Linked DNA regions of Homo sapiens: all the other regions are linked to region 1. The links are contacts of gene promoters, found by promoter capture Hi-C in blood cells and fetal thymus (Javierre and others, 2016). All regions are on one chromosome and are shown on one strand. The core of a region is centred on a gene start or on the middle of the fragment in contact, and the rest is flanking DNA. Distances in the headings are between cores, read along the strand shown.

Evidence for each region. The method cuts DNA at HindIII sites, captures the fragments that hold promoters and counts their contacts. A CHiCAGO score of 5 or more calls a contact.
Region 2: a contact is called between a fragment that was not itself captured here and the fragment with the promoter of PRSS36 in region 1, in 12 of 17 cell types (M0 macrophages, monocytes, M2 macrophages and 9 more). The highest score is 12.2, in M0 macrophages.
Region 3: the fragment with the promoter of ITGAX here is called in contact with the fragment with the promoter of PRSS36 in region 1 in 15 of 17 cell types (monocytes, neutrophils, M0 macrophages and 12 more); the score reaches 11.4 in monocytes.
Region 4: a fragment that was not itself captured here is called in contact with the fragment with the promoter of PRSS36 in region 1 in 10 of 17 cell types (monocytes, M0 macrophages, total B cells and 7 more); the score reaches 8.8 in monocytes.
Region 5: a contact is called between a fragment that was not itself captured here and the fragment with the promoter of PRSS36 in region 1, in 3 of 17 cell types (M0 macrophages, monocytes and M2 macrophages). The highest score is 7.6, in M0 macrophages.
Region 6: the fragment with the promoter of HSD3B7 here is called in contact with the fragment with the promoter of PRSS36 in region 1 in 7 of 17 cell types (M1 macrophages, megakaryocytes, endothelial precursors and 4 more); the score reaches 7.0 in M1 macrophages.
Region 7: a contact is called between a fragment that was not itself captured here and the fragment with the promoter of PRSS36 in region 1, in 6 of 17 cell types (M0 macrophages, monocytes, M2 macrophages and 3 more). The highest score is 8.8, in M0 macrophages.

Annotation. Positions count from the first base shown.
Region 1 is chr16:31,148,342-31,151,769 of GRCh38, forward strand. PRSS36 (serine protease 36) reads right to left here and starts at 1,725. Exons shown (of 15, transcript NM_173502.5): 1 at 1,658-1,725; 2 at 1,355-1,390; 3 at 1,122-1,157; 4 at 732-894; 5 at 54-334. The coding sequence starts at 1,694. RefSeq lists enhancers at 359-896, 897-1,432, 1,433-1,969. The HindIII fragment of the contact is 9,446 bases long and covers 1-3,428 here.
Region 2 is chr16:31,401,290-31,404,717 of GRCh38, forward strand. It overlaps ITGAD (integrin subunit alpha D), which reads left to right. Exons shown (of 30, transcript NM_005353.3): 6 at 826-956; 7 at 2,211-2,356. Among named protein-coding and RNA genes, the nearest start is that of ITGAD, 9.7 kb to the left of the region's middle. The HindIII fragment of the contact is 7,259 bases long and covers 1-3,428 here.
Region 3 is chr16:31,353,913-31,357,340 of GRCh38, forward strand. It overlaps ITGAX (integrin subunit alpha X), which reads left to right and starts at 1,264. Exons shown (of 30, transcript NM_000887.5): 1 at 1,264-1,379; 2 at 1,981-2,086; 3 at 2,713-2,816; 4 at 3,119-3,189; 5 at 3,341-3,428. The coding sequence starts at 1,343. RefSeq lists enhancers at 526-655, 846-1,035. The HindIII fragment of the contact is 18,983 bases long and covers 1-3,428 here.
Region 4 is chr16:31,333,362-31,336,789 of GRCh38, forward strand. No RefSeq gene overlaps it. Among named protein-coding and RNA genes, the nearest start is that of ITGAX, 20 kb to the right of the region's middle. The HindIII fragment of the contact is 1,483 bases long and covers 900-2,382 here.
Region 5 is chr16:31,315,305-31,318,732 of GRCh38, forward strand. All of the region lies in intron 14 of ITGAM (integrin subunit alpha M), which reads left to right. Among named protein-coding and RNA genes, the nearest start is that of ITGAX, 38 kb to the right of the region's middle. The HindIII fragment of the contact is 2,960 bases long and covers 68-3,027 here.
Region 6 is chr16:30,983,029-30,986,456 of GRCh38, forward strand. HSD3B7 (hydroxy-delta-5-steroid dehydrogenase, 3 beta- and steroid delta-isomerase 7) reads left to right here and starts at 2,179. Exons shown (of 7, transcript NM_025193.4): 1 at 2,179-2,269; 2 at 2,625-2,796; 3 at 3,021-3,176; 4 at 3,395-3,428. The coding sequence starts at 2,631. It overlaps SETD1A (SET domain containing 1A, histone lysine methyltransferase), which reads left to right. Exons shown (of 19, transcript NM_014712.3): 18 at 607-744; 19 at 822-1,636. The coding sequence ends at 995. RefSeq lists an enhancer at 1,648-2,160. The HindIII fragment of the contact is 29,451 bases long and covers 1-3,428 here.
Region 7 is chr16:31,296,599-31,300,026 of GRCh38, forward strand. ITGAM (integrin subunit alpha M) reads left to right here. Exons shown (of 30, transcript NM_000632.4): 13 at 916-1,056; 14 at 1,147-1,356. Among named protein-coding and RNA genes, the nearest start is that of ITGAM, 38 kb to the left of the region's middle. The HindIII fragment of the contact is 4,791 bases long and covers 1-3,428 here.

The DNA of each region.
Region 1 (3,428 bases), core at 475-2,974:
CTCTCGAAGCCCCACCTCCCCGAGGCCCTCCCCTCTTGTCCCGTCCCACTCACCTGCCTCCTGGACGTCTCCCCAGCCGGTGGCCCAGCAGGCGGTGCCGTGCACGAAGCGGTGTGAGGCGCGGGGCAGGCAGACAGGCCACACGGCGGGGCCCAGGCTGGCGGGTGAGGCCAGGCGCAGCAGGGCCAGGTCGGCGCCCAGCTCCACTTGGCTGTAGTTGGCCGGCACCACGATGGCGGCCACTGCGCGGGTGTGCGCGCCGTCCAGGGGCCCGTCCTGGGAGTGCACGCCCAGCAGTACCGACCACTCGGCCGCGGGCTCCAGCGTCCCATTCCTGCGCTCGACCGGGGCAGTAGGAGGTTAGGTTGACCCTATGGAGGGGGCAGACCCTCGTTGGGGGCAGGGGCTCAGAGCCAGAGGGGCAGGTGCTATCCGATCCAGATTTGGTGCTGATACTCCTCAAAGGGGAAGAGCAAATCCGATTTGGAGCTGGTGGTGGGGGGGTCATTGGAAAGATGGGATTCAGACCCGGATATTGAGTGGAGTGGTGGGACCAGTCCGGCAGCCTTGCCCCACTCGGAACCATGATGCCTCGAATAGCACCTCGCTTTGGGGACAGCTTGGCTCCAAATTATCCTTGAGGACGGAAGTGGGGCGGGAGGAGGGGACCAACTGCGGGGGCGGGGGCCAGCTTTTGGCGGAGAGGGGCCAGGACCAGGGCGAATACTCACGTCATGAAACAGTGAGCAGCGGAGAGGACCCAGGAGGGGGCGATGAGGGAGCCCCCGCAGATGTGGCCACCTCCATGGTGCAGGCTCACTTGCCAAGGCCAGGTGCCCGGCTGCGCGTTTGAGCCCCCCACGATGCGGGCCGAGGGCTCAGGGCGCCCGCAGTCTGCAACGGGGAGCCGTGGAAGCCAAAGCTCCCCTCGGGTTCCCCACTCCAGAAGCCCAGGTAACTCAGGACGAAGGCCCGTCCTCCACCCACTTCAGTTTGCCCCTCTGAACAAAGAACATAGAGGACCCAGGCTTGTCTACATTTCTGGTCTTTTCCACCTCCCTCATGGCCTGACCAGCCTTAGCCTCCTTTAAGGTCTGAGGGTGCCAAGGCCTCTTCCTTACCCAGATCTTCAGGTTCTTCCTGGGTAGGACTGAGAGCTGGGAGCCAGAGGGGAAAGAGAGGAGGACACTTGTGACTTCCAGGCCTGCACCGCCCAGCCCCACTTCCTGCTCTCCAACCCCCGACCCTATCTTCCCACTTCCCTGTCCGTTCAGCAACCCCTGCCAGCACCCATGCCAGTCCTCTGGTCTTTTCTGCCTCTGCACGTGACTTTCCCCCAGTCCGGCTACCTTACCTGAGTCCTGGAAGGCTCCTGGGATGGGACTGATGACTGGAAAGACAGAGGTAGGCAGGAAGAGGCTGGCGACTCGCACTCAGTATGTGCCCTCCCTGACTCCCTCCCCCAGCCTCCTAGCCTCCGTCTCCCCAGGGCACCCAGGCCTCCCTCTCCCTCCTCTGATACATCCTCGCCTTCTGCTGCCTCACTTCCTTCTCTCTGACTTCCTGCTCCCCACACAGAAACCAGGAATCCTGCTCTCCAGCCCCCCAGATGCCAGGACCCAGGCCCTTTGCAGCCACTCTTGTCCCCTGAGGTTACCAAGCATCACAAGGGGGAGGAGCAGGTGCCGGGCCATGGCGCTAGAGTCAGCGGAGGCAGAGCCAAGTGAAGGTCTGCTCCCTGCAGGGCTCTGTCACTGCCCAGGCAGCCCGTGACTCCTGATGGTCCCAGGGGCAGCCCCACCCTCCCTGGCTGGAGCCCATCTCTGGGAATCTGAGAGGATCTGGGGCTGGAAGGGGGAAGCTGGGGAGCCTGAAGGCCCCACCCAGAGCCCTGCGCACATCTCATGTCTCTGGAGGCCCAGGGTGGGGGTGGAGGACAGGTGTCCTAGCTCCTGGACACCTGTTGGGTGGGAGAGGGAGGGATGAAAAACACTGCAGGCAAAGGTCAAAGAGGAGGACAGTGTTCTGTGTCCTTGGTGAGCAGTGGCCCTTAGGACAGGGGAAGTGGCCCCTCACGGGCATGACTCATCGGAGACCTCACCTCTGTTTGGGGTGCGGCTGCCCCAGTGGCTTGGCCTTTTCTTCTCACACAGCTCTGGTTACTGGAGCTGCTGGCCAGGTCTGGGACAGGAGCCCTAGGGAATTCAATCCCATCCCAACAAAAGGATCACAGATTCCAGCAGGTTGGGCAGGGCATAGGGACCCTGGGAGGGGGCTGGGCAGGCTGGCGAGGCTGAAAAAGCCTCCACCCTGCTCTGTGTTCCAGTGACAATGCTCTTAGCTGCCCTGTCACTTACTCTGTGTGACTTTGGGAAAGTAACCCAACCTCTTGGTGTGTATCAGTAAGAGCCAGTTTAAGGGACATATGACTTGGCCGAGCACGGTGGCTCACTCCTGTGATCCTAACACTCTGGGAGACTGAGGTGGGAGGATTGCTTGAGGCTAGGAGTTCAAGACCAGCCTGGTCAACATAGCAAGACCCCATCTCTACAAAAAATTAAAAAATACAAAAATTATGAACTGCAGGGCGTGGTGGTGCACGTCTGTATCCCAGCTACTCGGGAGATGAGGTGGGAGGATTGCTTGAGCCTGGGAGGTCGAGGTTGCAGTGAGCTATGATTGTGCCACTGCACTCCAGCCTGGGTGACAAAGCGAGACCCTGTCTCAACAACAACAACAAAAAGAAAAAAAAAAAGAAGAATAAGAAGAAGAAAGAAACATATGGCTCTTCAAAGAGGAGTTGAAGAGAGTTTAAGGAAGAAACTATTTATAGAAGTGTAGGCAGGGTCAAAGGAAACCAAAGAGGCTGGGTGGCTCACGGCTGTAATCCCAGCACTTTGGTAGGCCGAGGCGGGCAGATCACCTGAGGTCAGGAGTTCAAGACCAGCCTGGCTAACTTGGAGAAGCCCCATCTATACTAAAAATACAAAAATTAGCCGAGTGTGGTGGAACTCACCTGTAATCCCACCTATTAGGGAGGCTGAGGCAGATAAAAATGCTTGAACCCAGGACGTGGAGGTTGCAGTGAGCCAAGATAGCGCCGTTGCACTCTAGCCTGGGTGACAAGAGCGAACTCCGTCTCACAAAAAAAAAAAAAAAAAGGAAACCAAAGAGGGATGGTAACGCATCCTGGGGCCAGCAATAATAGAGAGCCCTTGCTACCTGCTGGCCTGAAGAGGCAGAGAGGGGGCAGTTACTGGAACCCAGCAAGAGCTGCAGCTATGGAAGAGATAGCTGTTAGGAGCCGTGGCCTTCAATAGAGAAATGCAGCCTTTACCAGCAGAGAGGGAGTGGGGAAAGAAAAATCCCCATCTCACTCTCATCTCATCCTCTCTATTTTTAATTAAACCAATTAAAAAATTTTAGAG
Region 2 (3,428 bases), core at 276-2,775, 250 kb after region 1:
TCAGCCAATGCCTGGGGGGCTCAGAGTGCAGCTGGCCCTTCAGACGCTGAACCAGTCATCGGTAAAGGTTTCCTCCAGGGGCAGGAGGTGTCCCAGTGGGCAACAGTTCCCCTCTGCCTAGCGTGATTCCTGGGAAGGGACTCAGCTCAGAGCCAACTCCACGTAGCTGGAAATAAGGACCTCTGACCGACTGGGGGTAGGGTGGGGTCTGGGGTGGATCCCTGCCCCACCCCCACAGCATCCCTACAGGCATATCCTACAGGCCTCGAAGGTGCCTGGCACGTGGTGAGAATGGTGCCAGCGGCTGACCCTGGCAGAGGGCCAGGACTTGTCTCCAGCACCCATGTGCGTGTTGCTTTATCCTTGCAGTGATCCCACGTGGTAGCCACTGATATTACCTTCATTTTACAGATAGGGACACTGAAGTCCAGAGAAGTTAAGTAATGTGCCTGAATTCACCAATTAGCACGTGGCTGAGCTGGGGTTTAGCCCAGGCACACTGGCTCCAGAACACGCGCCCTGAACCACTTTGCTAAACATTCGCCCTTGATGCTTGTGGCACCCCTAGCATCTGTGTTTAATGAATATTTGTTGATTAAATGGATGAGGAGCCCACCTGGGTCCTGTGTTGTCATCCCTCTCTTTCCAGGCCATGTGGGAGGAAGGGAGCAGGGGGCTGGGGTGGCAGACTGGGGCCTCCTCCAAGGAGGGGTCGGAAACTAGGTGGGGATGCCAAGAACAGCCCCCGGGCTCTGTTGAGCAGGAGCTGCAGGAGGGGGTTGGGCCCCCGCAGTGCATCTCCGATTCCTCCCCATTCCCCCACAGAGTGTCCACATCAAGAGATGGACATCGTCTTCCTGATTGACGGCTCTGGAAGCATTGACCAAAATGACTTTAACCAGATGAAGGGCTTTGTCCAAGCTGTCATGGGCCAGTTTGAGGGCACTGACACCCTGGTGAAGACTGGGCACCTGGGGCTGGGGTTTGGGGGACGGGGGAGGCTGGCCTCGGGGAGGCATCCCGGGAGGGGTGGGGGCAGGCCAGTGAGCCGTGTGTGATGGGGCTGGGGTGGAGAATGAAGCTATGGTCCCAGCACAGGCCCAACTTGAGCCCTGACCTAGGAGGCCCTCTTGGCATTTAATAATGTATCCAAAAGCTACAGGAAATACAATGTTTCTGCTGTTTAAAAACATTGAAAGTGTTTAAAAAATAATTTTGCTATGGAATTTGACTGACATATTTTCTATGTAACTAATGATTTCTTTTTATTATTTTATTTTCCCATAACTAGTGCCTATGTATGTGCAAAAAAACCCCACTGTTTTGTTTTTTAAACAGGGTCTTGTTCTGTCATCCAGGCTGCAGTGTGGGGGTGCAATCATAGCTCACTGCAGACTTGATCTCCCAGGCTCAAGTGATCCTCTTTCCTCAGCCTCCTGAGTAGATGGGACTACAGGTGCATGCCACCATGCCTGGCTAATTTTTAAAAATTTTTATTGTAGAGATGGGGTCTTGTTATATTGCCCAACCTGGTCTCCAACTCCTGGCTCAAACAACCCTCCCACCTTGGCCTCTCAAAGTGCTGGGATTACAGGCATGAGTCACTACGCCCAGCCACAAATTCTTGAGAAGGGAGGAAATACACAAATTGATTTAATGTGTGATAAAATTTTTAAAAAGCTAAGGGTAGCAAATATTGTGGTTGGCAAAGTTATTTTTAATAAACTGTGAAGGAAATATCATTTGGTTTAGATTTTCCAGTTTATATTTTGTATTTTTGGGCCAATGAATTTTCTTCTCTGGGTTTCAGTATATTATTTGTAGGGCTTCAAAACACATGGGAAATGGTTTGTAAATCCAAAATAATTCCAAAATAAAGTTTATTAAAACTGAAAACAATATGGCTTGGTGTGGTGGCTCACACCTGTAATCCCAGCACTTTGGGAGGCTGAGGTGGGAGTATTGCTTGAGGCCAAGAGTTCGAGACCAGCCTGGGCAACATAGTGAGACCTTGTCTCTACCAAAAACAAAACAAAACAAAAAACAAAGCCAGGCATGTGACGTGTGCCTGTAGTTCCAGCTACTTGGAGGCTGAGGCAGGAGGATCACTTGAGGCCAGGAGTTTGAGAGACCCTGTCTCTACAAAAAATTAAAATAAAAACAATAGTAACAGGCACTGAGCCCTGGGCCCTCCCCACTGGCCTTTGCAGTTTGCACTGATGCAGTACTCAAACCTCCTGAAGATCCACTTCACCTTCACCCAATTCCGGACCAGCCCGAGCCAGCAGAGCCTGGTGGATCCCATCGTCCAACTGAAAGGCCTGACGTTCACGGCCACGGGCATCCTGACAGTGGTGTAAGCAACCCCGACCCCAGCCTGGCGATGTGACTGCCACCCCCACTTCCTAACCCTGGGTCAGCACAGCTCTTCTCAGAGGCTGAGGGAGGCTCCAGGGAAAGGGGCTACCAAGGGGCATGTCGGGGCTGCAGGGAGAACCTCCCCCCGGGGTGCTCCTGGTTGCCTCGCTGCCAGTCTCCCTGATATAGGACTAGGCTCCTCTGCAGCTATGCCTCCCCTTTGCCTGGTTCTGCAGAGCCTGGACCCCAGGACCCCTCCCCACCCCACAGCAGCCAGAGGCCCGGGCTTTGGCTCAGACACATCAGGCTCCCATCCTGGCTCCCCGTGAGCTACTCTGGGTGTAACCCTGGGGTGATGGGCTCTAAGTCTCAGTAACTCTCAGATGAAGATAAGCTCACAGCTTAGGATTGAGATCATGTGTGTGGGGTGCTCAGCCCGGGGCACGTAGGAGGTGTCGGATAAATGCCTGAGGTTTTATCAGAGAATGGAGTAGTCAGGGACTCAGGAATTGTCACCCAAGGTCGTCCTGGTGCCTTTCTCCCCACTCACCTCCTCTCCCGCATCCCTCACCCCTGCGCACCCCCTGTGCTACCCAGGCACTCACCGTGGGCCTGCCCCGTGCACATGCAGTCTATTCCTAAAACGATGTAGGAGGTGGGACCCCCGAGAAAGGCATGTGGTTCTTGTAGGAAGGAGCTGGGCTGACGGTCGGGGATCCTTGGCTTCCTGCACACACCCCTGGGAGCAGCCCTGGGGTGGTGCTAGAATTTGGCTTAAACAAGAGATGCTCCCACCAAACGCACCCTCTTTACTTCTGGGAGGCTCTTCTGCCTTGAACGGTGGCCCCTTGTGACTCAGCAACCCAGAGGAAGGCCTCCGTCTGTCCTGTAAGTTTAAAGTCACACGGGAGTGTCCCATTCTGGAGTCTCCACCTCACCCCTCAAAGTTCTTCCAGTGGTGGGGCCTGGGGAAAAAAATGAATGAGGCAGGGGTGACCGAGTGGTTCTCACCAACTCCAGTCCTGCTCTCATGCCCAGACTGCAGGAAATTTCCCAGCAGCCTTTGCTCC
Region 3 (3,428 bases), core at 14-2,513, 210 kb after region 1:
ATATAACCCACTTTCTAAAATGAAAATGTGAAGATCTCAGTCCCCATGAATTCCCTTCAATGCTGTCCTCCACTCTCAGGACAAAATCAATGTGTCTTCACCAGGTGTGGTGGCTCACACCTGTGATCCCAGCAATTTAGGAGGCTGAGGCAGGAGGATTGATTGAGATCAGGAGTTTGAGACCAGCCTGGCCAACATGGGGAAACTCTGTCTCTACTAAAATTAAAAAATATATATATATAAATATATATATATATTCAGGTGCAGTGGTGCAATCCTATAGTCCTGGCTACTCAGGAGGCTGAGGCAGGAGGATCCCTTGGGCCCAGGAGTTCGAAGCAGCAGTGAACTATGCACCCACTGCACTCCAGCCTGGGTGGCAGAGCAAGACCCTGTTTCTGAAATTAAAAAAAAAAATTGATGTACATTAGGGGGGCTTCCACGGCCTGAGGCCTGCTTCCCCTTGCTTTCCTCCCAGTGGCCCTGACCTTGTCTCTTACAACTTCCCACCCTGACTGTCTGGTTCCCATTGCTGATTTCACACACAGACCCTCCTGTCCCCTGCCTCATCCATGTCTGGCTGCTCTGTCATCTCCCAACTTTGGTTGCTTTCAATGCTCAGCTCAAGCACCACCTCTTTCAGGAAGCCTTCTCAGAAAGCCACACCTTCACAACCCGGGTGAGGCACCCTGTGGTCTCTGTGCTTCCCCCTCACAGCAATGAACTTGCTGTTTATACATCTGCCTCTCCACTGACCCCAGGGCTGGTGCTTTGTGGTTTATATTTTCTTCCCCACCTAGCAGAGGGCTTGCATCTCCAGGCTCAAATTAGGCTTCTTGAATAAATGATGAATAAATGAGTGAATGAATGAATGAACAAATACTCGCTCTGTGCTCCTCCTAGGGACCCGGATGCCCCACTCCTTGGCCCAGACTTTCCAGGTCAGAGTGGAGGGCTCCCACCAGGGTTTCCTTTAGGGTCCTGAGGGGTTGGCATCTGCCCAAACCCCCTCCAGTCTGGCTGAAATTTCAAGGTCAAGGGGTGCCTTCTGGCAGTCAAGGGTGAGCCTGGGAGGGGCAGGGCAGGGATTTGCATCCATCTAAGCAAAGGGCATCAAGCCAAGTCATCTGATGAGAGTGACTCCGGTTGGGGGGTGGGGGCGTGTGGGAGGCCGAGCCTGTCCTCGGATCAGTTGCGTACTCTGCCCGCCCCCTCTGACTCATGCTGACAATCTTCTTCCTTCCCCTGGCCACCTCTCTGCCCACTTGCTTCCTCAGTACCTTGGTCCAGCTCTTCCTGCAACGGCCCAGGAGCTCAGAGCTCCACATCTGACCTTCTAGTCATGACCAGGACCAGGGCAGCACTCCTCCTGTTCACAGGTGAGCCTGGACCCCAATGAAGTAGGGCTGGGGACCCAGGCCCAAGGGAGCCAGGGCCCTGAACTGGGGGCTCAGGCTGGGGGGTTAGGATCTGGGTAGGAAGAGAGACTCAGTCAAGCCTGAGGGGGAGGCAGGCACATAGGGTCTGAGATTTGGAGTTTGTGGAGGGAGAGGATATTGATGAACCAATTTTGGGAGAGTTCCAGAGATGCTGGAAGAGAGGCCAGTTGTCTCTGTACTGCAGAGATTTTTAAAATAGGCAGAATGCGCCAACTTGTGCTCTGTGGACAGGATGCTTTGGTCCGCAAGTTTTCCTGGACTCACTCTCATAGCGCCCGAGGTGCACGTTGGGGAAAGATCCTTTTTAGAGCCTGGGTACTGCTCTGCAGAAATGGAGAACTGCAACTCGATAGTGGATGGTGGGCAAGGGGCATCCCTGGACCCTGGGAAGGAGAGAAGGGGATGAGTTGGGTGTCCAGAAGACCCAGGCACCCCGGGCATCAGGCTCGGAGGGGAGATTGGGACGCTGGGGCCGGGGGTGGAGGGCAGCCAGGCAGAAGGAAGACCCTTCTCCAAAGCTCTCTTCCCACCTCTTTCCCAGCCTTAGCAACTTCTCTAGGTTTCAACTTGGACACAGAGGAGCTGACAGCCTTCCGTGTGGACAGCGCTGGGTTTGGAGACAGCGTGGTCCAGTATGCCAACTCCTGGTGAGGCCCAGGTGGTGCTGGCCTTTGGCTCCATCCATCCTCTCCCTGCTCAGGGCCCCATGCCCCCGGCCCTGCCCTGTTATTTGCAAACTCTCCTCTCTGTCTGGTGTAGCGACTGCCCTGGCTAATGAAGATTTGCCTTGAAGGCAGGCACGGTCTCACAGCTAACATTTACAGAGCAGTAAGTGCAGTGCCAGGCTCATCACAGGTGGATGCTGATTTAGTCCACACGACAGCCTGTGAGTAGGAATCAGTCGTGCAACAAACACTTATTTGTTTTTTCTTTCTTTTTTTCTATACATTTAAAAATATATAGAGACAGGGTCTCACTATGTTGCCTGGGTTGGTCTCAAACTCCTGGGCTCAAGCAATCCTCCCGCCTCAGCCTCCCAAAGTGCTGGGATTCCAGGTGTGAGCCACCACACCCAGACTCAACAAATATTTCTTGTCTCCATACGCCAGAGAATCCAACAGACAGAAATCCCTTCCACATGGACTTTAAATTATTAAAATCCATCTTGCAGATGAGGAAGCTGAGGCTCAGGGAGGGAACGCAAACTTGCCGGAGTGGCAGCTGTGCTGCAGCGTCCACACTCTTACCTAAAGTGTTCTTTGTCTCCTCGCAGGGTGGTGGTTGGAGCCCCCCAAAAGATAACAGCTGCCAACCAAACGGGTGGCCTCTACCAGTGTGGCTACAGCACTGGTGCCTGTGAGCCCATCGGCCTGCAGGGTGAGTCACCGCCCCTCCCGGGACCCAGGGCCGGGCTCCCAGGCTTCCCTGCTCCAGGGGCCCGTGGACTCACCGGAGTGTCACTTTCAGCTTCCACTGTGTCTGAGACCCTCACCCTCAGATATGCTTCCTGGCCCCTTAAGGCCTCCCCGCCCATCGCACTCCCGCAGCTCTGTCAAGACCCGACAGCTTCCTTCACCGTCAGACCTCCTTGTCTCCCAGGTGGAGGTGACCCCTGCCCAGCTCTTCCACAGCCTTCTCTGTACCCCCGAGAGTGACCATGCACATATCTGTCCCCACAGTGCCCCCGGAGGCCGTGAACATGTCCCTGGGCCTGTCCCTGGCGTCTACCACCAGCCCTTCCCAGCTGCTGGTGAGTGGCCCTGGGTCACAGGAGGCTTCTGAGGGAGGGAGGGAGGAGCCGGGGCCGCGGGGGGCTGGGAGTCTCCTGTAGGGTGGAGGTTCCGGAATGTGAGGGTGGGAGGAAGCAGGGGCAGCCCCCCAGCAGCCCGCTGTGTCCCCAGGCCTGCGGCCCCACCGTGCACCACGAGTGCGGGAGGAACATGTACCTCACCGGACTCTGCTTCCTCCTGGGCCCCACCCAGCTCACCC
Region 4 (3,428 bases), core at 391-2,890, 180 kb after region 1:
CAGGAGTTTGAGACCAGCCTGTCGAACTTGGTGAAACCCCGTCTCTACTAAAAATACAAAAAAATTAGCCATGCATGGTGGCAGGCAACTGTAATCTCAGCTACTTGGGAGGCTGAGGAAGGAGAATTGCTTTAACCTGGGAGGTAGAGGTTGCAGTGAGATATGATTGCATCACTGCACTCCAGCCTGGGCGACAGAGCAGGACTCCATCTTAAAAAAAAAAAAATAAATAAAATAAAATAAAATAAAGAGATGGCTCCAGGAAATACCGAGGAAGGGAAGGCTGCCAATAACAGGTGTATCACCCACAGAGAAGCTGCTGTGAGTTCCTGGAGCTTCACCCCACTGGGCAGTTCTCGGAGGCAGTGCAGAACACGCACCTCAGTATCACCCCACCCAGGGGAGAAGGCTGGAGCGCATAGACACCGATTCCACTTAGCTATTGGATGAGGGCTGCTCTTGGTGGGGAGAGTGTGTTAATTTCCTACCACTTCTGGCCTGCCCTGAGTGTGAGGAGAGTGGGCTCTAGTGGCCAGAGAAAGTGATACCAGTGCTGCTGGCTGGATGTTTGACAGGTGAACACAGCCCCTGACACGGTGCCTTTGGTTCAGGTCAGGGCACCAGGAGCACTTGCTGCCAAGGTGTGTGCAGGTGACATTTTGGTGGCTGCTTCCTCAGAGGGAGGATGCCCAGTGCCTGTCCCTCATACTTTGCAAACACAGTAAACACTAGCCTGGCCTGAACATACATCCTCTCTAATCCTCACACCAGTCCTTGGTATTTACATGAATTTCACTTATGAGGAAACCTAGGCTTAGATAGATCATACCAGTTGCCTGAGGTCATACAGCTGGGAAGGAATGGAGCTAGGAGTTAATCCCAGCTCTGCCTAGGTCTAAAGCTTTTCTCTTTTACTGTCCTGACAGCCTCAGAGGAATGGCCCCAGAACAGGCATGAGGGAGTGTGGGGAGAGGGTGGCTGTTATTTAACTGTTATGATATTGGGTTAAAGCATATGAAATTGATGACATGTTTTTGGACAAAAATGTTTCTTTCTTTTCTTTCTTTCTTTCTCTTTCTCTCTTTTCTTTCTCTCTCTCTTTCTTTCTCCTTCTTTCTTTCTTTCTCCTTCTTTCTTTCTTTCCCTTCCTTCCTTCCTTCCTTTCCTTCCTTCCTTCCTTCCTTCCTTCCTTCCTCCTTCCTTCCTTCCTTCCTTCCTCCTTCCTTCCTTCCTTCCTTCCTTTCTTTTTTCTTTCTTTCTTTCCTTCCTTCCTTCCTTCCTTCCTTCCTTCCTTCCTTCCTTCCTTCCTTCTTTCTTTCTTTCTTTCTTTCTTTCTTTCTTTCTTTCTTTCTTTCTTTCTTTCTTTCTTTCTTTCTTTCTTTCTTTCTTTTTTTTCATGGAGTCTTGTTCTGTCGCCCAGACTGGAGTACAGTAGTGTGATCTCAGCTCACTACAACCTCTCCCTCCCGGGTTCAAGTGATTATCTTGCCTCAGCCTCCTGAGTAGCTGGGATTACAGGCGTGCACCACAATGTCTGGCTAATTTTTTTTTTTTGTATTTTTGGTAGAGATGGGGTTCCACCATGTTGGCCAGGCTGGTCTTGAACTCCTGACCTCAGGTGATCCATCTGCCTTGGCCTCCCGAAATGCTGGGATTACAGGTGTGAGTCACTGTGCCCAGCCAAAAAATGGTAATTTCATGATCTTCATTGAAATACAAGAAAATCATGGCTTAGAGGGACACTTGTTTCACATGTGGCAGGAGGAGAGAGGGCTTACTCCTTAGGGAGGTGAAGGAAGGGTCCCCAAGGGAGGTGACACCTGACTGAAGCAGGGCCAGAAGATCTCCAGGCAGAAGGGAGGGCAGGGGAGGCTGGGAGAGTGGGCAGGGCTTGGGCATGAGTGCTTTGTAAGCCAGAGTGAGTAGTTCCAATTTCACTCAAAGTGAAGTGAGATGCCCTCAAAAGGTGGCTAATGAGACAATGGCCCTTTGTATCTGTGGGGGTGACACAAAACACGGTCACCTTTAGACGGTTCTTTGCTATTTCCTCTCCTGACTTAAATAAAGTCTGTTAAGAATTTCTGTGTTTCCTTATGTTGAAAGATAAAAGTCCTCAATATCTGCAGAAGTCCTGAATTGCTCCGGGAACAGAGAGAGTTCTGTACCTTTAGTCGCCTGTCCTTTCACCCTCCATGTCTGTAGTCGCCTGTCCTTGCAGCCTCCATGCTGGTCCTTGTAGCCTTCGTACCTAGTTGCTTGTCCTGGCAGCCTCCATACCTGTAGTTGCCTGTCCTTGCAGCCTCCGTGCCTGTAGCCGCCAGTCTTTGCAGGGCAGTTAAAGTCCTGTGAACTCAGAGTTCACCTCCGCGTCTTCAAATGAGAAGCTTGTGTTGAATTCAGCCAGATAGGAGCTTTATGATGGGTTAGAAAAGTCAATCATTTCAAGCGACAGATTTCCCTAGCATGACCACAAAGTGACTAATAAACAGGACCATAAATCTGGTGATAAGTGGCCAAGTCCAGGAACGTCTGCTTGCTTTTATTTTTGGGGATTTCTCACTTCAGAATAAATGAATCCCTTCAGTATCCACTCTCCTTTTCCTACTTAGAGTAGAATCTTAATTTGGGCCACCATGGGAGATGGTTACAATTCTGACTCCCAGTGAATGGTGCTTCCCGGCCCTACACCCTTGCAGTGTGACATTGCTGTCCCTGACATCACATGGTGCGGCCTGTCTACCTCTTTGAATCTGGGCTGGTCCCGTGGTTTGCTTTGATTAATAGAATACAGTAGGAGTGTGGTCGTGTGAGTTCTGGAGCCTAGACCTTTAGGAGCACAGCAGATCCTGCCCTGCACCCCTCGGAACACTGAGGTCACCACGCCGTGATCCATATGGCCCACTGGAGAAAGAGTGGACTCATGGAGGAGACAGCGGAGGCCACTGCCACTGTGCATGCATGAGGCTGCTGTGATCCTTCCATCCAGCTGTCCAACACCTGCAGCCACTGGAGAGTCCCACAGAACTGCCTGGATTGTCACCTCATGCAACTGTGAGAAATAATCAATTACTGATGTCTCAGTCCTGCGTGGTGGTTTGTTACGCTGCAATGGATATTGCGTATAGCCCCTTAGTTATAGGGTTCGTCTCCCCACCTCCTGTGCAGCTGGTGTGGCTGCCTGGCGAGGTTCTGGCTGATGGGATGTGAGCAGCAGTGAAGCGAGCAACTTCGGAGCCAGGTCCTTTGAGGGAAGAAGTGTCGTTTCTTTTCACCACCTTCCCGCTGGCTGGAGTGTCAGCATCACGGTGCACAATTTTGGACCCTGAAGATGAGTTTGACATCGAAGAATGCAAGAGTGGAACAGAGGAGGCTGGGTCCCGCCTCTGCGGAGGCACCATGTCAGCCCTGGACTCCATATTCTCATGCCA
Region 5 (3,428 bases), core at 298-2,797, 170 kb after region 1:
TTTTTGTTTTTGTTGCTTGTGCTTTCAGGATCATATAAAAAAATCATTGCCCAGACCAATGTCATGAAGCTTTCCCTCTACGTTTCCTTCTAATAGTTTATAGTGTTAGATCTTACATTTAAGCCTTTAACTCACTTTTTAATTTTTTTATTTTTTAATTTAATTTTATTTTAGATGGAGTCTCTCTCTATTGCCCAGGCTGGAGTGCAGTGGCACGATCTCAGCTCACTGCAACCTCCACCTCCCGGGTCCCAGCGATTCTCCTGCCTCAGCCTCCCAAGTAGCTGGGATTACAGGCCTCCGCCACCATGCCTGGCTACTTTTTTGTATATTTAATAGAGACGGGGTTTCACCATGTTGGCCAGGCTGGTCTTGAACTCCTGATCTAAGGTAATCCACCCGCCTCAGTCTCCTAAAGTGCTGGGATTACAGGCGTGAGCCACTGCACCCGGCCCAGCACTTTTGATTTTTGTATTTGGTTTGAGATAAAGGCTCAGTTTCATTCTTTTGCCTGTGGATATCCAGTGTTCTTAACACCATTTGTTAAAAAGACTGTCCTTTCCCCATTGTATGCCCTTGGCACCTTTGTTGAAAATTAGTTGATTGTTGGCCGGGCGCGGTGGCTCATGCCTGTAATCTCAGCACTTTGGAAGGCTGAGGCGGGTGGATCATGAGGTCAGGAAATCGAGACCGTCATGGCTAACAAGGTGAAACCCCGTCTCTACTAAAAATACAAAAAATTAGCCGGGCGCGGTGGCGGGCGCCTGTAGTCCCAGCTACTCGGGAGGCTGAGGCAGGAGAATGGCGTGAACCCGGGAAGCAGAGCTTGCAGTGAGTCGAGATTGCGCCACTGCAGTCCGCAGTCCGGCCTGGGCGACAGAGCGAGACTCCGTCTCAAAAAAAAAAAAAAAAAAAAAAAAAAAAAAAAAAAAAATTAGCCAGGCATGGTGGTGGGCACCTGTAGTTCCAGCTACTCGGGAGGCTGAGGCAGGAGAATGGGGGAACCTGGGAGGAAGAGGTTGCAGTGAGCCTACATCATGCCACTGCACTCCAGCCTGGGTAACAGAGCAAGACTCCGTCTGGAAAAAAAAAAAAAAGAAAAGAAAATTAGTTGATTGTAAATGCATGGGTTCATTTCTGAGCTCTGTATTCTGTTCCATTGGTCAATGTCTCTGTTTTTATGTCAGTGTCATGCTGTTTTGCTGAGTATACCTTTGTGGTGTATTTTGATGTCAGGTAGTGTGATACCTCTACCTTTGTTGTTTATGCTCAAGATTGTCTTGGATATTTGAGGTCTTTTGTGACTTCATATTAATTTTAGTATTGTTTTTTCTATTTCTGTAAGAAATGCCATTGGGATTTTGGTAGGAATTACATTGACTCTATCGATCACTTTGAATAGTATGGACCTTTAAAAATATTCTTTCAATCCATAATATGGGATATCTTTCCATTGATTTTTGTCTTAACTTTCTTTCGTCAATGTTTTATAGTTTTAGTGTGCATATTTTTCACCTTCTTGGTTAAATTAACTTGTAAGCATTTTATTTTTTGATGCCATTGTAAATAGGATTAATTTCTTTTTCAGATAGTTTGTTGTTAGTGTATAGAAACAAATAATTTTTGTATGTTCATTTTGTATTCCATGACTTTACTAAATTTGTTTATTAAATTTGATAACTTTTTCGTAGAGTATTTATAACAAGTTTCTTATATATAAGATCATGTCAATTGCAAACAGGGACAATTTTTTTTTCTTTATTTCTAACTTGAATGCATTTCTTATCTTTTTCTTGCCCAATTGCTCTGGCTAGGACTTTCAGTACTGTGTTGAAATAGAAGTGGTGAGTGTGGGCATCCTTGCCTTGTTCCTAATTTTAGTGGTAAAATCAAATTTTCACCACTGGGTATGATGTTAACTAGACACTTTTTTTAATGTTCTTTATCATGTTGATGTAATTTCCCTGTATTTCTAGTTTGTTGAGGGTTTTTAATCATGAGTGGCTATTCCTGTGGCCTGAATGTTTGTGTCCTCCCCAGATTCATATGTTGAAGCCTAATTCCTTGTGTGATGGTATTTGTAGATGGGACCTTTGGAAGGTGTTTAGGTCATGAGAGTGTGGCCATCATTAATAGGATTAGTGCCCTTAGACAAAAGCAAAATGATGGTTGCCTATGAACCAGAAAATAGGCTCTCACCAGATATTGAATCTGCTTGCACCTTGATTTTGGATGTCACAAGTCTTCAGAACTATGAGAAATAAATTTCTATTGCTTATAACCCATCCAGTCTATGTTATTTGTTATACCAAATAAGCTAAGACAGATGTTTAGTTTTATTAAATGCTTTCTTTTCTTATTGATAAGATCATGTTATTTTTATTCCTTATTCTGTTAATGTGGTGCATCACATTTATTGATTTGCATATGTTGAGCCATCCTTGCATGCCAGGAATAAAGCCCACATGGTCATGGCGTATGACCCTTTTGTGCTATTGAATTCAGTTTGCTAGTATTTTATTTAGGATTTTGGATCTATGTTCAATAGGGAAATTGGCATGTAGTGATCTTTTCTCATGGTGTGTTTGTTGGGATTTAGTGTCAGGATAGTGCTTGCCTCATACAATAAGTTTGGAAGTATTCCCTCCTCTTCAGTTTTTTGGATGAGTTTGAGAAGAATTCATATTAATTCTTATTTAAATGTTTGGTTGGTAGAATTTGCCTGAGAAGCCACCAGGTCCTGGGCTTTTCTTTGTTAGGAGGTCTTTGATTACTGATTCAATTTCCTTACTCATTATAGATCTGTTTAAACTTTCTATTGCCTTATGATTCAGGCTTGGTAGGTTGTATATTTCTAGGAATTTATCCATTCCTTCAAGGTTATCAAGTTTGTTAACATATAATTGTTCATAGTAGTCTCTTAATGATCCTTTTTATTGCTATGGCATCAGTTGTATGTTCTTTCATTTATAATTTTACTTATCTGTTGTTTCTGTTTTTTCTCCCTTTTTCCTTGGTCTACCTAAAAGCTTGTCAGTTCTTTTTTTTTTTTTTTTTGAGATGGAGTCTCACTCTGTTGCCCAGGCTGGAGTGCAGTGGCATGATCACAGCTCACTGCATTCTCCACCTCCCAGGTTCAAGTGATTCTCCTGCCTCAGGCTCCTGAGTAGCTGGCATTACAAGCACGTGCCACCACACCTGGCTGATTTTCGTATTTTTAGTAGAGACAGGGTTTCACCATGATGGCCAGGCTGGTTTTGAACTCCTCATCTCAGGTGATCCACTTGCCTCGACATCCCAAAGTGCTGGGATTGCAGGCGTGAGCCACTGCACCTGGCCAAAGCTTGTCAATTCTATCTTTTTGAAAAATCAACTTAATTTCATTGATTTTTTTCTATTCTCTATTTGATTTATTTTTCTGTAATCTT
Region 6 (3,428 bases), core at 929-3,428, 160 kb before region 1:
TGGCTGGAAATGGAAGTTTGGGAGGAGTCCCCACCACATAGCTGGCGGCTGAGGCTCTGGAAGGGAGTGAGGTCACCCGAGGAGGGCGTGCAGAGGCTCCTCACTGTCTTCTGGGAAGTAAGGGTTGCTCCTCACACGGAGGTGCGGGGCCTGACATGGGCGGCCTGCCATTTGCATTAGCCGGTGGCAGCCAACAGGTGCCTGTTTTGGAGAGAGGTCCAGGGAGGAGAGATGAGCAGGGTGCCGTTGGTGACATGGCCAGTCATTTCAGGAGCTGCCCCAACCCCAGACTTGCCCCAGCAGTCCGGGACCCCACTGTGACCAGGCAGATGCTCGAAGGAGTCAGTGGCTCTCTTACCCAGTGCAGATTTCCCTGGAGTTCCCTGCGGGTGACTTAGAATGGCCACCAGAGGCTTAGGATGCTGCCCCAAAGAGGGAGGGCTCCTGGAAGCAGAGTCGAGAGAGTCAGTGCCGGGTTAGCGGGAGCTGGAGGCAGAGCTGCAGCTCCAGGCCTGGTGGGCGTGGACCTGGGGTGCTGGCTGGCAGGCGTGCTCAGGGGCAGGAAGTGGGGGACTCTTCCCTGACCATCGCATCTCACCCTGGCAGATGGTGGCCGACATGCGGGAGAAGCGCTACGTGCAGGAGGGCATTGGCAGCAGCTACCTGTTCCGGGTGGACCACGACACCATCATCGATGCCACCAAGTGTGGCAACCTGGCCAGATTCATCAACCACTGCTGCACGGTGCGCCAGGGGCCAGCCGGGGCAGGAGTTGGGGGTCGGTGGGGGTGGCCACGGCTCACACGCCCTTCCATCCGCAGCCTAACTGCTACGCCAAGGTCATCACCATCGAGTCCCAGAAGAAGATCGTGATCTACTCCAAGCAGCCCATTGGCGTGGACGAGGAGATCACCTACGACTACAAGTTCCCACTGGAAGACAACAAGATCCCGTGTCTGTGTGGCACAGAGAGCTGCCGGGGCTCCCTAAACTGAGGTGGGGCAGGATGGGTGCCCACACCCCTATTTATTCCCCCTGGTGCCCTGAGCTCCCAGCACCCCCCCAGCCTTAGTGGGCTCAGCAGGGCCCACATGCCCCCATCTCCAAGCGTGGGGTTGGGGGCCCCAAGCCCAGCGAGGGAGCCTCAGTCCCTGGAGGCAGCTTCTGCCTCTCCTGTCACCCCTGCCCACCACCCCCTGATTGTTTTTCTTTGCGGAGAAGAAGCTGTAAATGTTTTGTAGCAGCCAGCAGCTGTTTCCTGTGGAAACCTGGGGTGCCGGCCTGTACAGATTCTGTCCTGGGGGGCTACACAGTCCTCTTGCTTTGTGTTAATGGGGACTTCCCCTTACGCCCTGCGTGTACCCCTCCCCAGTTTAGGGGTCTCTGGGGCAGTGGCCATGTTCTCCCCCTGGGGGGGCTCTGCACCCCCAGTCCTGGGGACTCCGTGCCTGGAACCCTGCCTCATCTGTTCCTGCCAGACCCTGAGGGTCACCCTTCCACCCTGGTGTCACTCCCCGGCTCAGCCAGGCCAGGATGGCGGGGTGGGTCCCTTTTGCTGGGCTGGACTGTACATATGTTAATAGCGCAAACCCGACGCCACATTTTTATAATTGTGATTAAACTTTATTGTACAAAAGTGTTTGGTCGGTGTATTTGGGCAGGAGCGAGGGGTTGGGGGTAGAGGGCACGGAGGGTTGTGCAAGTTGAAGAGAGGGAAAAGTGGGTACCTGAAGTGTGGGGCAGGTAAAGGGGCCTTCAGGCAAGAGCCCAGACCTGCAGAGACAGTCCGAGACTGTCTCGGACCCCCTGACAGGCTGCAGCAGCCGCACCCGCACCAGGAATACCCCACCAGTGCCCGCCAGGGTGGTGCCAAGGTCAGGCCTCCCCTTCCTACAATCACAGCTGCAGCTGGACCTCCGGCCTCCTGGGAAGCCCAGCAGGAGGGAAGGCCTGAGGTCACACTGTGGGATGAGGTCACCGCTGGCTCCACCCACAGCCCCAGACCCCTTCAGCCCACTCTGCAAGTTCGAGCTTCATCCCCACCAAGTTCTCCGCTGGACCCAGATGCCAGTGGAGCACAGAGCGGCCGCCAGGGGGCGCCTTGGGGCAAGAGTGGTGGGGGTTGTGGCTGGGCGGGTCTCTGTTCCTGGAATGGGGCAGGAGGGAGAAGGAGGAGCCAGCGGAAGGACGGTGTGCGGGCCGGCCAGCCCTGGACGAAAGAAGAGGGCCCCTCCAGGCCAGTCTGGGCACCCTGGGATAGCGGCTGCAGGTAGGCAGAGGCGCTGCCAGTGCCCAGGTGGCCTTTCCCTCCATCCGGCCCTTCCCACCTTCCTATAACCTTCCCTCCACCTCCCTCAACTCCTGGCCTCCCCACCCTTTTACTGCCTTCAAATCTCTCTCCCTAAACCCTGACCCCTTCCTGCACCCCAAGCCCGCCCCTCTCTCCGTAACTCAGCCATCAGCAGGGGCAGACGGCAGGTGGCCTGGTTGCTGCAGCTCCCAGGATCAGCTCTGCCCTCCCCGCAAACGCCAGCCTCGTCACCGCTCCAGGGCACCTCCAGCAGTAACAGGTGGTTGCAGCAGGTGGCAGCCAGCCCCTGGATGAGCCAAGGTCTCTTCCCCAGCCAGGCATGGCCGACTCTGCACAGGCCCAGAAGCTGGTGTACCTGGTCACAGGGGGCTGTGGCTTCCTGGGAGAGCACGTGGTGCGAATGCTGCTGCAGCGGGAGCCCCGGCTCGGGGAGCTGCGGGTCTTTGACCAACACCTGGGTCCCTGGCTGGAGGAGCTGAAGACAGGTTCTTGTTGGGGGAGCTTGTGGTGGAGAGGGTGTGGACGCTTCCCCAACCCTTCCCAAGCTGGGATCCCCACCCCTGCAGTGGAACAGATGATGCTGGTTTCTGTCCACATGGATGGGTCGAGTGAGTCACATTGGGAACGTGACTCCAGGGTGGAAGATGAACCCAGCCTCTGGCCTCTGGCCCCAGCTCTGACATGGCCTGTGTCCTCCAACCCCGGCCAGGGCCTGTGAGGGTGACTGCCATCCAGGGGGACGTGACCCAGGCCCATGAGGTGGCAGCAGCTGTGGCCGGAGCCCATGTGGTCATCCACACGGCTGGGCTGGTAGACGTGTTTGGCAGGGCCAGTCCCAAGACCATCCATGAGGTCAACGTGCAGGGTGAGGAGCTCTGGACACTCCTGGCCATCTTGCCTGTTTGTTCCCCACTCTGTCTTTGGCCTTGACCTCCGGTGACTCCCCTGGGACAAGTTGTCCTATTGACAGCCCTGCCCCCGCCTCCCCTGACCTGTCATGGTTTTCCCTGGACCTGGGATGGGGAGGAGGAAGATGCAGAGAGGGAAGAAGCTGCAGCTTGGATACGCCTCCTCCTCTGCCAGGTACCCGGAACGTGATCGAGGCTTGTGTGCAGAC
Region 7 (3,428 bases), core at 359-2,858, 150 kb after region 1:
TGCAGAGCCGTGGCATGATGTCCCCTGCACATTCCCTTTCTAGAACTTGTCCCAGTTTGAAATTGCTATACACATCTCCCTGTTAATCCATTGATTACTCTCCTCTCCTCCACCTGGCTGCACTGAGGGCCCTGGAAGGCACTGTATCTCTATTACCCAGCTGTGTGCTTAGCAATAAGAAACACTTGTTTGTTGAATGAATGAATAAATGAATGAATGAATGTATGATTAAATAGGTGAATTTTATGGATGAATTCTACATATTGACCTTGAAGATATTTCTTAATATCACAACAAATATTCAAATAACAAATAGTTATTTTTAATCTAAGCCAGTTATTAGCCTTATTAGTCAGAGTGCCAACTTTGACTTTTTACCTCCCTAAAGATTCCCAATATATTGAAAGGGTGGTATTCTGTCTTCTCTTCTAGAATTTTCTATGTATTTTCCAACCCAAATTCTTCTTTGCTGCCTTAATAATCTCCCAGGAATACCACCTGGAGTAAATCCTCACTCACTGCCCATTGACTCTACTATAGGCTTATTTTTTATCTTTTAAATTATTAAAAAATATATATATACACTTAGAGATTGGGATCTTGCTCTGTTGCCCAAGCTGGAGTGCAGTGGTGACAAAGCTCACTGCAGCCTTAAACTCCTTGGCTCAAGGGATCCTCCCACTTCAGCCCCCCGAGGAGCTGGGATTACAGGCAGAAACCATTCTGCCAGGCTTATTATATAGGTTCCTTTAGCTGGCAGCACATTCAAGTGATAATTTATCATGAACCATATAGAAGATCACATCTGCTCCAGAGGGATTCCCCCAGCAGGCATAACTTTTCTTCAGAGAGAGAAAACCTCCACATCTGCTTTAGGTGGGAAGAGGTGTGTGATTACGGTCCTGTCTCTTTCAGATCGGCGCCTACTTCGGGGCCTCCCTCTGCTCCGTGGACGTGGACAGCAACGGCAGCACCGACCTGGTCCTCATCGGGGCCCCCCATTACTACGAGCAGACCCGAGGGGGCCAGGTGTCCGTGTGCCCCTTGCCCAGGGGGGTGAGTGGCAATGGGACCTGGGCTGGGTGGGGCCCGGTGTGGGTGGAGGGGTCGCCTGGGTTGGGGCCTGATACTGTTTGTGTTTAGCAGAGGGCTCGGTGGCAGTGTGATGCTGTTCTCTACGGGGAGCAGGGCCAACCCTGGGGCCGCTTTGGGGCAGCCCTAACAGTGCTGGGGGACGTAAATGGGGACAAGCTGACGGACGTGGCCATTGGGGCCCCAGGAGAGGAGGACAACCGGGGTGCTGTTTACCTGTTTCACGGAACCTCAGGATCTGGCATCAGCCCCTCCCATAGCCAGGTGAGACCTGGTCACTGTCCTTGTCATGACAGTAGCCTCTTTGTTGATCTTTCTCCTAATTCAGTGTGCCCACAGCTGCCAGATAAGTTCTCACAGTACTCCTTTCAGAACCTTCAAAAATAATAACATGTGGCTGGGCCTGGTGGCTGACGCCTGTAATCCCAGCACTTTGGAAGGCTGAGTTGGGAGGATTGTTTAAGCCCAGGAGCTCAAGACCAGTCAGGGCAACATGGTGAGAACCCATCTCTCCAAAAAAAAAAAAAAAAAAAAAAAATTAGCCAGGTGTGGTGGCATACACCCATGGTCCCAGCTACTCTGGAGGCTGAGGCCGGAGGATTACTTGAGCCTGGGAGGTTGAGGCTGCAGTGAGTCCTGGTCACACCACTGTACTCCAGCAGCCAGAGTGACAGAGTCAGACTTGCACATGCATGCGTGCACGTGCACACACACACACACATTCACAGAAATCTCAAAGACTCTTAGTTCCAGATTGATTATTTCTACAGCAATAGGAGGTGCATGATAGCCTCATCACCCCCACTTTACAGATGAGTAGATCAAGGCCCAGCGATGGCAAATGGCAAGCTAGCAGTATTGGGATGCAGGCATTCCTTTCTTCTGAATCTCGGTCCTGGTAAGGTGACCAAGAGCTCTAGTTTGCTTAACTCTGTCCCAGATTTAGTACTGAAATCCCACATCCTGGGAAACCTATGCGGTTGGCCACCTTACGGGATTGCACACTTCACAGATGTGGAATTGTGCAGTCACACGTGCCCCTCTCTCAGAATCGCCCTGTGCTTGGCTTAATGCTCTGCTATTGCCATCTTCAATTCTTAGTAATTTTTCAACAAGGGGTCCTACGTTTTTTTGCATTGGGTCTTGCAAAGCATGGAGCCCATCCTGATGACTTGTCACCCTATATTCTGGACCTGACAACTGTTTTGCTCTGTAAGTTGGCTTTCTGTCTCCTGCCAGGTGGAGCCCACTGTCTGGAGGGACCCTTACAGTCTGGTTCCATCTTCCCTGTTCATATTCTTTCCCACCATAGCCACCTGAGACCATCTAGTTTTCTGGCCTCTGGTCTCTGGGTTTTTGCTAGCCTTACATTTTTCTTTCTTTATGTTTAAAAATTTTTTTATTGTGGTAAGGGCACTTAACATGAGACCTATCCTCTTAACAGATTTTAAAATGTACAATGTAATACTGTCATCTATTGGTGCAATGTTGTACAGCAGACCTCTTGAACTTCATCTTGCATATTGAAAATGTATACCCATTGATTAGCAACTCCTCATTGTTCTCTAGCCTCTGGCAGCCACCATTATATTCTTTGCTTCAATGAGTTTGGCTGTTTTATTTTTTTTTAGTTTTTGAGACAAAAGTTTCAGTCTGTCGCCCAGGCTGGAGTGCAGTGGCACAATCTCGGCTCACTGCAACCTTACCTCCTGGGTTCAAGCGATTCTCCTCTCTCAGCCTCCTGAGTAGCTGGGATTACAAGCATGCACCACCATGCCTGGCTAATTTTTGTATTTTTTGTAGAGACTGGGTTTTGCCATGTTGTCCAGGCTGGTCTTGAGCTCCCGGACTCAAGTGATCCACCTGCCTTGGCCTCCCAAAGTGCTGGGATTACAGGTGTGAGCCACCGCACCCTGCCAGTTTGGCTATTTTAGATAACTCATATAAGTGAAACCACGCCGTATTCATCCTTTGGTGACTGGCTTATTTCACTTAGAATAACGTCCTCCAGGTTCATCCATGTTGTCACAAATGAAAGAATATCTTTCTTCTTTTTCTTCTCCTCCTCCTCCTCTTCCTCCTCCTCCTCCTCCGCCTCCCCCTCCTCCTCCTCTTCCTCCTCCTCCCCCTCCTCCCCCTCCTCGTCGTCCTCCTCTCCTCCTCCTCCTCCTCCTCCTTCTTCTTTTTTGACAAAGTCTTGTTCTGTCACACAGGCTGGAGTGCAGTGGTGCAAACACGGCTCCTGGAAGCCTCAACCTCCTGGGCTCAAGCGACCCTCCCACCTCAGTCTCCTGAGTAGCTGGGACTGTGGGCCCATTCCACCATGCCTGTCTAAT